Linked DNA regions of Homo sapiens: region 2 is linked to region 1. The links are contacts of gene promoters, found by promoter capture Hi-C in blood cells and fetal thymus (Javierre and others, 2016). All regions are on one chromosome and are shown on one strand. Each heading gives the region's core, a stretch centred on a gene start or on the middle of the fragment in contact. The rest is flanking DNA. Distances are from core to core; before and after follow the strand shown. Region 1 holds the start of CRY2 (cryptochrome circadian regulator 2). Region 2 holds the start of MTCH2 (mitochondrial carrier 2).

What was found. The method cuts DNA at HindIII sites, captures the fragments that hold promoters and counts their contacts. A CHiCAGO score of 5 or more calls a contact.
Region 2: the fragment with the promoter of MTCH2 here is called in contact with the fragment with the promoter of CRY2 in region 1 in 1 of 17 cell types (monocytes); the score reaches 5.6 in monocytes.

What each region holds. Positions count from the first base shown.
Region 1 is chr11:45,845,274-45,849,636 of GRCh38, reverse strand. CRY2 (cryptochrome circadian regulator 2) reads right to left here and starts at 2,162. Exons shown (of 12, transcript NM_021117.5): 1 at 1,932-2,162. The coding sequence starts at 2,146. RefSeq lists a silencer at 1,392-1,501 and enhancers at 1,450-1,971, 1,902-2,141, 2,502-2,551, 2,602-2,711. The HindIII fragment of the contact is 7,201 bases long and covers 1-4,363 here.
Region 2 is chr11:47,640,209-47,644,571 of GRCh38, reverse strand. It overlaps MTCH2 (mitochondrial carrier 2), which reads left to right and starts at 2,013. Exons shown (of 13, transcript NM_014342.4): 1 at 2,013-2,193. The coding sequence starts at 2,107. RefSeq lists a silencer at 1,823-2,092. The HindIII fragment of the contact is 6,217 bases long and covers 1-4,363 here.

The DNA.
Region 1 (4,363 bases), core at 913-3,412:
AAAAAAAAAAAAAATAGAATTGGGGGAAAGGGGCCCAGGTATCTTTTAAAGACCCTTATGGGATTCCAATGCACAGCAGCCAAGATTGAGAACCACTGCTCTAGTCTGTCCCCTTATCTTATGTTTCTCATGGCACTTCGTTTCACTAAATTATGGTTGTTTGTTGGTAAAATGTAGGCTCCAGGAGTTCTGGAGCACAGACACATCTGCTTATTCACTGCTGTATCCCTAGCAACATCTAGAGCAGTACCTGGCAGATATTAGGCACTTATTAAGTGATCAATTAATATCTGCATTCTTACACAGCCTCTGACTTCAGGATTTGACTCAGGCATCTGAGCCACATTCCTTTTCTTCTTCACTAGATTGATAGCACGATCACAAAATGATGACCCACAAAAATCCATAAACACCTGGTTCCTAGCAAACTGGAGTTTAATCAACAGGAATTTTATTGTTGATTTTTAATCTTCCCTATCAAAAAAGAGTAGGCAGTACTATGCAATGTCCCCCAAAACCCAATAAAAGAAGAAACTCTGTGACAATGTAACAAGAAGGTAGTCGGATTCCATTTGCCTGGCTCCGACTGGTGCAGGGCAAAGTCTGAGGCTTGGCTTAATGTGCACACTAGGGATGGTCATTTGATGATGCTTGTCAAACCCAACCTCCTATCTGTAGAAAACTGGAGCAGAGACAGAGCAATAAGGCAGCCTGAAAACTGTGGGCAGGCTCTCCACAGGACTCCTTAGTTGTTCCTTCTGGGCAGGAGGGGACACTGAACAGGCCCACTGCTAGCAGCACTCACTCTCTTAGCAGGGCACACACCTTGGAGAGAAAAGAATGGTGTGCCGAGAGCCACGGTATCCTGGAAATAACCCTGTCCATCGATGCAACAAGGCCACAAGCAAACATTCCCCAGAACAATGCAAACAAACCGAGCGACTGCCACTAGGTGTTCTGAAGAGCGATGGGTACATTATGTCTCAAAACTCTTTAGTTTGAATACTGTTTACAGTGAAAATACACTAACGACCTGTTCATCTTTTTCCATGATCATGTCGACTCCATCTCCTGGGGGGTCATCAGAGGGGCCCTTGATATCATGGCTTTCCTGCTCCCTAACCTTACCACAACAGTTCATAAAAGTCTCATCTCTAATGGCTCTACTGTCCTCTAAAATCATGACAAGAGGATGACGGGGTGACACTTTGGATTCTTTTAAATTTTTCTATCGAGGTCAAAGCTCCAGAGCAGGGCTTAAAACATTTTGGAGAATCCCCTGGATTCTCTGGAGCTTTGAACATAAAGCGACTCCACCTGAAGACGCCTTTGGCTTCTTTATTTATAATATAGGGGAGAAGACCTTATTTAATGCTAAGCCAGGGTCACTTGACACCCCTAGAGGCAGGACGGTCTGGGTGCAGGGTAGCCAGGATGGGTGGTAGGGCGGATTCAAACGAGCCAGAGGCTTCGGAGTGATCTCCCCGAGCCCAGCAACGGGCTCTTGAAGAATGCGAGCAAAAACCCGTCCCGCCCTCACACTACGTTATCTCCCTTCCGCCCCTCCCTGAGTAGACCGTAAGAGCCCTAGACCAGGAGCCCCTGTTCTGCCACTCACTGGCTACAAGTCCTTGGGCAGGTCGACTTTGGGTCTCCAGGGCTCAAGGGTCTCATCTGTACAACGGGGATCATGATCTCCGTTCCACAGGCAGTTGTGAGGCTCAAAGGGGTAACAGTGCGAACGCGCTTTGTCAGAGGCTGAACCCTGGCCCACCGGCGCGTTAGGACCATGACGAATTACTTCCCCGGTCTCGGCTTCTCCCCTCTGGCCTTCCAGCCGTGGCGGGGTTGGGGGGATCGTGCTGTTCGCCGGTCACCCCAGGGTCAGGGTCCTGGCTGCGTCCCCGCCACCCAGCCCCGGGTCCCCTCACCTCCATCGGTTGATCCCGACTGAGGAGGAGGCCGCGAACCACGGGTCGAGAATGTAAACGCAGCGCACGCAGCGCGCCCCGCGCACGGCCGCCAGCAACGCCGGGTTGTCGTGGAGTCGCAGCCCTTTGCGGAACCAGTGCACCGAAGAGGCGCTGTCCGTGCCGGGCGCTGGCGCCGGGGCCACAGCTGCCGCCGTCGCCACAGTCGCCGCCATGACTGTCCAGACTGCTCCAGCCACCCCCGCTCCGCCCCGGTAGGCGACGTGGACCCCGCCCATAGCCCGCCCAGTGACCTATGACGCCGCAACTCCACCCTTAGTCCCCGCCCACAGGGCCCCAGAGCCCCTCTGCCATTGGCTGAGTGCCTTCCACCTGGCGATTGGCCCAGAGGCGCCGGAACAGGCCCGCCCCCTCACGTTCCTACCATGTGTGGGTCCGCCCGGGTGGAGCTGGCATGCGGACAAGTGACGCAGGCTGGGGCTGTCCGCAGGCTGGGGCTGTCCGCGGAGTGCCGGGAGTAGGCCAAGTCTCAAGGGACAGCGGATCTCTTACCCACGTCCTGTTCAGGGCCTGCTTCTAGAAGAAGCTGCCTGGGCTGGTAGGGGTTGCTGTGACTACAGCCAGTGACTTGCAAGACTGACAGCTGACCTTCCTATTATCACCAACATCGTCACCATCACCATCTACATCATTCTACTACAGCTGCCATTTATTAAGTGCACTTTATATGGCAAGAGACATGATCATCTCCTTACGTAGACGGTCTCATTTACTATTCTCAACTCAGCCCAGTTACATTCATTTAGCGAACCCCAGTGAAAAAGCTGCTGTTGTTTTCGTTTCACAGATGAAGAAAACGGAGGGTGCCGCAGGTTGAGTGACTTATTCAATATCATAAAGCTGCTAAGAGGATTTCACCCAGATTATTCTGATTTCGAAATTTCTGCTTTTATCCACGAAGCTATACTTCTCTTTGTGCGAAGATCCTTGGTAATTCCAAGTGGCAGAGTCTAAGGACGGGGAAGGAGTGCCCTAATATGCAGCAGTAGAGGATTTGGGAGTAAGGACTGGGAATGTGGGGGACTTGAATTGAGATAGTAATTATGCCATCAGATGAATTTATTTTCTTTTAGTCTGTTTAGTAGATCCAGTGTGTGCAAAGCACTGTACTGGATTCCGGGTAGGGTTCAGAGATGTGGAGGACACTGTCCCCATTCTTCTGGGACGCCAGGTGGAACCCTCTTGGGCTAAGACGGCTTAGTCAAGCTGCAGCTTTGGGGTTATCAGGTGGAAAACAGTCTGTTTCAACTTGACCCTAGGTTGAGCCCATGCTTGGAACCCTTCCTGGACCTGGGACAGAGTGATGAAAGCATTTAGTAATTTAGTCTGCAATTTAGTGGCATTAATTGGCACCACTCTCTAAACCAGTGTCACTGCAATCCTAGGCATTCTCTGTCATTTCCAGGGCTTTTCACGAGCTGTTCCAGCAGTCTAGATCACACTCCCTCTTCCATCTTTGTTTCTAACTCCAGTTTGCTCTGTATCATTGTTCAGTATAGATGTCACCTTCTTGCTGTCTGATCCCAACCTGAATAGTGCCCCATCTTATTCTGTGCTTCTTTTTGGTCACTTGTCTTGGCACACAATACTGAAATTTCTTGCTTAAAAGTCTTTCTGCCCCATTAGAGTATAAACTCCTGGAGAGCAGGGGCTGTGGCTTATTTACATACAGTTGTATGTCTGAAGTCTAGCTCAGGGCTTGGCACCTAACGCTCAAGGATTATTTGAGTAAAAATTGAACTAGAGTCTCATATTGGCAGGCTCTTAAAGGTTTATCCTAGTCCGCTTACCTGACCCTTTCCTTATTTTTGAATTTCCTTTCCAAATTCTTGCTGAATAAATCGATGCAATCTTTCATTACTTTTATTTTAAGGTTTTGTGTTCCCCCTCTCCTATGCCCTCTTCTCTCCACAAGGTTGGTGCTTTGCTAGGAATGAAACAGAGTGTAAGGAGGTGGTTCTCCCTTAACCTCAGAGATGGGTCCTCTTCCCTTTTTCTCCTCTAAATTCCCATAATGCTATATCTGTATTCCGTGAACCCTGTGAGGCAGGGACTGTGCTTGTCTTACTTTTCAGTGTCTTCTCAGCTGGTACTCTGGTACCTAACATATAGTAGGTGCTCAAAAAACATTTGTTGAATGATCAAAAGTCACTTCCCTCCCCTCCCCTCGCTCTCTTATTAAGCTATCATGAGAGGCAGTGTGATGTAATGGTTAAACCTGAGGCTTTGCACATTGGAGTTGCTGAGTTCAAATTCTAGTTCTGCTTTTATTCTCTGTGACCTTGGATAAGCTAGTTAACCTCTCTGTTCCTCACTTTCTTAATCTTTGCAATAGGGTGATAATAGCACTTAGGATATAGTAAGCATTTGTA
Region 2 (4,363 bases), core at 764-3,263, 1.8 Mb before region 1:
TAATCCCAGCACTTTGGGAGGCAGGTGGATCACTTGAGTTCAAGAGTTTGAGACCAGCCTGGGGCAACATGGCGAGACCCCATCTCTACTAAAAATACAAAAAAAATAGCTGGGCATGGTGGTGCACACCTGTGGTCCCAGCTAATTGGGAGACTAAGGTAGGAGGATCGCTTGAGCCCAGGAGGTGGAGGTTGCAGTGAGCCGAGATTGCACCACTGCACTCCAGCCTGGGTGACAAAGAGAGACCCTGTCTCAAAAAAAAAAAGAAAAGAATCCCCTGCTAAATAGTCTCTCTGGCTCAGCTTTATGTTTCTAGATTCAGTTAGAAGCAACTTGTTTCTTACAACTTTATTTTTTATTTATTTATTCTTTTGAGACTGAGTCTCGCCCTGTCACCCAGGCTGGAGTGCAATGGCGCAATCTTGGCTCACTGCAACCTCCAACTCCCGAGTTCAAGCGATTCTCCTGCCTCAGCCTCCCGAGTAGCTGGGATTACAGGCACCCGCCATCACACCCAACTAATTTTTGTACTTTTAGTACAGATGGGGTTTCACCATGTCGGTCAGGCTGGTCTTGAACTCCCGACCTCAGGTGATCCACCCACCTCAGCCTTCTAAAGTGTTGGGATTACAGGTGTGAGCCACCGTGCCCAGCCAATATCTGTATTTCAATATAAAGTTTTTTAAAAAAAACCCTTTCCTATGCATAATTTCACTTAATGCTCATAATAACCCTGAGAGATACACAGTAGTGTTAGATTTAGATACAAAAACTGGAAATTAAAGTAGCTAAAATGACAAATGGATGCAGTGGAAAAGCCAGGATCCAAATCCAAGTCTTTCCCCTACAGTACTTCACTCTGCTCCAAGCTCAGATTCACCAAATGTTGTTTGATAGAACACGTGAGCTGGGGCTGAAGGAGCAGGGACAATGCCTTTTTCACTTTTGCCTCTGATAGCCTGTAGACTGGTAGGCACTGAAGTATTTGTTCACTTGTGCAATAAATATTTATTGAGCACCTCGTATGTGCTGGGCACTGAAAACACAACCGTGAACAGAGGCTGTCACGGTTCCTGAACTCATGGAGCTTTCATTCCAGTGGAGGAGACATAATTTCAGTGATAATGCTACGACGGGGCACAATGTGGGAGAAAATAAGAGGGAGGTGGCCAGGCGCGATGGCTCCTCACTCCTGTAATCCCAGCACTTTGGGAGGCCAAGGCGGGTGAATCACGAGGTCAGGAGTTTGAGACCAGCCCGGCCAACATCGTGAAACCCCGTCTCTACTAAATAGACAAAAATTAGCCGGGCGTGGTGGCGTGTGCGTGTAATCCCAGCTACTAGGGAGGCTGAGGCAGGAGCATTGCTTGAACCTGGGAGGCGAAGGTTGCAGTGAGCTGAGATCGGGCCACTGCACTCCAGCCTGGGTGACAGAGCGAGACTCCGTCTCAAAAAAAAAAAAAAAAAGAAAGAAAAAGAAAAGGGGGAGGTAATTTTAGAATGGTCAGAGAAGGTTTTTTTGAAAAGATAACATTAATCAAACGAATAAATGAATGAAAAGCCACTCGCTAGCGGATTCATTATTTGCTATACTTATTTAGAGTTTGTCAGTCACGAGACTGTTACGGCTCTGATGCTGAGTATCTTTTGAATCCTATGTTGATGATGCCCAAAAGGCAAGTGCAGAGATGAAGCATAATGAAGAATCCTTTTCAATTTCTTTTCAGTCCTCTGACCTTGCCTCTGCCGTCACGGTCACACTCCCCCACTGACACTCCCATTCTTCTGTTTCCGGACACTTGCGGCCTGGAAGCGCATGTGCAAGAGAAACCGTCATTCCTGGTGAAGGGCGAGCCCCCGGCAGAACGCATGCGCCTCTGTCCCTTAAGCCCCGCCCCGACCTCAGCGCCCCCTCGCGAGCGCCTGCCGTTTCTCGGGGCGGGACGGGGGGGCGGGGACTGGGCGGAGAGGCGCGTGCTGCTGCGTGCGTGCGCGCGCGCCGCGGGCGGGCCAGTGAAACCGGCGGCCCTGGCACGTGACCTAGGACCGGCTCACCGGGTCGCTTGGTGGCTCCGTCTGTCTGTCCGTCCGCCCGCGGGTGCCATCATGGCGGACGCGGCCAGTCAGGTGCTCCTGGGCTCCGGTCTCACCATCCTGTCCCAGCCGCTCATGTACGTGAAAGTGCTCATCCAGGTATGAGGCGTCGCCGCTCCCTACCCCGCCCGGCGCCCCGTTCGGTCGCTGCTGCTCAGGGCGCCTGAGGATCGGCTCAGCCTTGCGGGCCTTTCATTCTCCCGAGATGCTGCTGCTCCTCCGCTGCCCTTTACCTCCCCGCAGGGACAGCTTCCTCAGTCCCGCGGCCCCGCTTGGGGGCCTCGCCGAGCCCTCGCCTCGCCGCCCAGCGTTGAGGCCCTCTCCTCCCTTAGCCAACCGCCACCCGGCCCTGCCCTGCCCGGCGGATCCTCTGAACTTTGGTTCTTCGTCACTGAGGTGGATCCTGGCCGGTCGCCACCAAAGGCTTCCGAACCCTCCCTCTCGCCCCTCCGAAATTCACATTCACCACTACTCCCCCCAAAATCTCAGACGCAAAACACGAAATACTCAGTTGAAGACAAATGTGAAGTTAGGTGGGAACCAACATTTTATTTTTTATTCCTTTTTTTTTTCTTTTTATGCTACTGTTACTACTGCTTTTCTGTTCCGAGGTTTTCGCACCAGATACTGAGAGAAACACAAGGAGCTCATTCAGAAGTGTTAATGAAGGGGTTGCTCTGTCAGATTTCGGAAGGATGCATTGAGCGCTTTCCAGCAGCGGCCCATGTGGCTCCTGACAATGAAAATCACATTTGTCAGAGCTGGAAATTAGTGAAGCTGAGTTTTAGCGAGTTTAAACATGGGAGTTAGTTTCTAATCTACTGTCAAATAATTATTACATGGTATTTTATATTCACATGCAGGTAGGCCAAGTAAGTGATAGACTTAGTGTTTCCAGTTCCTTTGCTATATCCCTGTAATGGGCAGGTCATTCTTTTTTTTATGCTTTTACTGAGAGTTGACATAATTACCTCATGCACTGTGCCTAGGAATGGAACAGTTTTTAGAACCCCTGTCTCGCCGTCTACTTTTCTGTAAAAAATAGGCAAGACACTAGAGAGGGCCCCATTTCTTATTCTTGAGTTGTTGGGAATCCAAATTATTTCTTGCTGAGTAGACCTGTGTGAATTCAGATTCCATATGTTAAAGGCTATTGCAAATAAATTCTTTGTACTTAGAACAAAGACTGATTAGAATGTACTGTAACATCCAAAACAGAATTGGCACATTTGGGGCTAGATAGCATCGGAGGTGACAGCATGTTGCAGTATATAGTAAGAACCCTTGGGGCCGGGCGCGTTCGCTCACGCCTTCCCAGCACTTTGGGAGGCCGAGGTGAGCGGATCACGAGGTCGATGTTTGAGACCAGTCTGACCAACATGGTGAAACCCCGTCTCTACTAAAAATACAAAATATAGCCAGGTGTGGTGGTGCGTGCACGTAATCCCAGCTAGTCGGGAGGCTGAGGCAGGAGAATCGCTTGAACCCGGGAGGTGAAGGTTGCAGTGAGCCGAGATCGCGCCATTGTACTCCAGCCTGGGCAACAGAGCAAAACTCAGCCTCAAAAAAACAAAACAAAACAAAAAAGAACCCACTACTCAATACTTCTCTGGGAGACGGGGTTTTCTAATGATGTTCAGAGCTCTTGCCCCAAAAACTTTGAATATTCTTAATTCTGATTTCACAACATCTATGTGTTGCCAAGTAGCCCAGGAGTTTTGGTGAAATTCCCAAATGCTCAGTTGTAAAAATAGTTACTTGGGCCGGGCACGGTGGCTCACGCCTGTAAATCCCAACACTTTGGGAGCCTGAAACAGGCGGTTCACCTGAGGTCAGGAGTTAAAGACTAGCCTGGCCAACATGGCAAAACCCCCTCTCTACTAAAAATACAAAAATTAGCTGGGTGTGGTGGTGGGTGCCTGTAATCCCAGCTACTCAGGAGGCTGAGGTACGAGAATGGCTTAAACCTGGGAGATGGAGGTTGCAGTGACCTAGATCGTGCCACTGCACTCCAGCCTGGGCGACAAGAGCGAAACTCTGTCTCCAAAAAATAAATAAGTAACTAAATAAAAATAAAAATGGTTACTTGGTAGCACTTTCAGGGAGCTCAGACAGGAGTTATTTGTTTATTTATTTGTTGTTGTTTTTGAGATGGAGTTTTGCTCTTGTCACCCAGACTGGCATGCAATGGCACAATCTCGGCTCACTGCAACCTCCGCCTCCCAGGTTCAAGCGACTGTCCTGCCTTAGCCTCTTGAGTAGCTGGGAT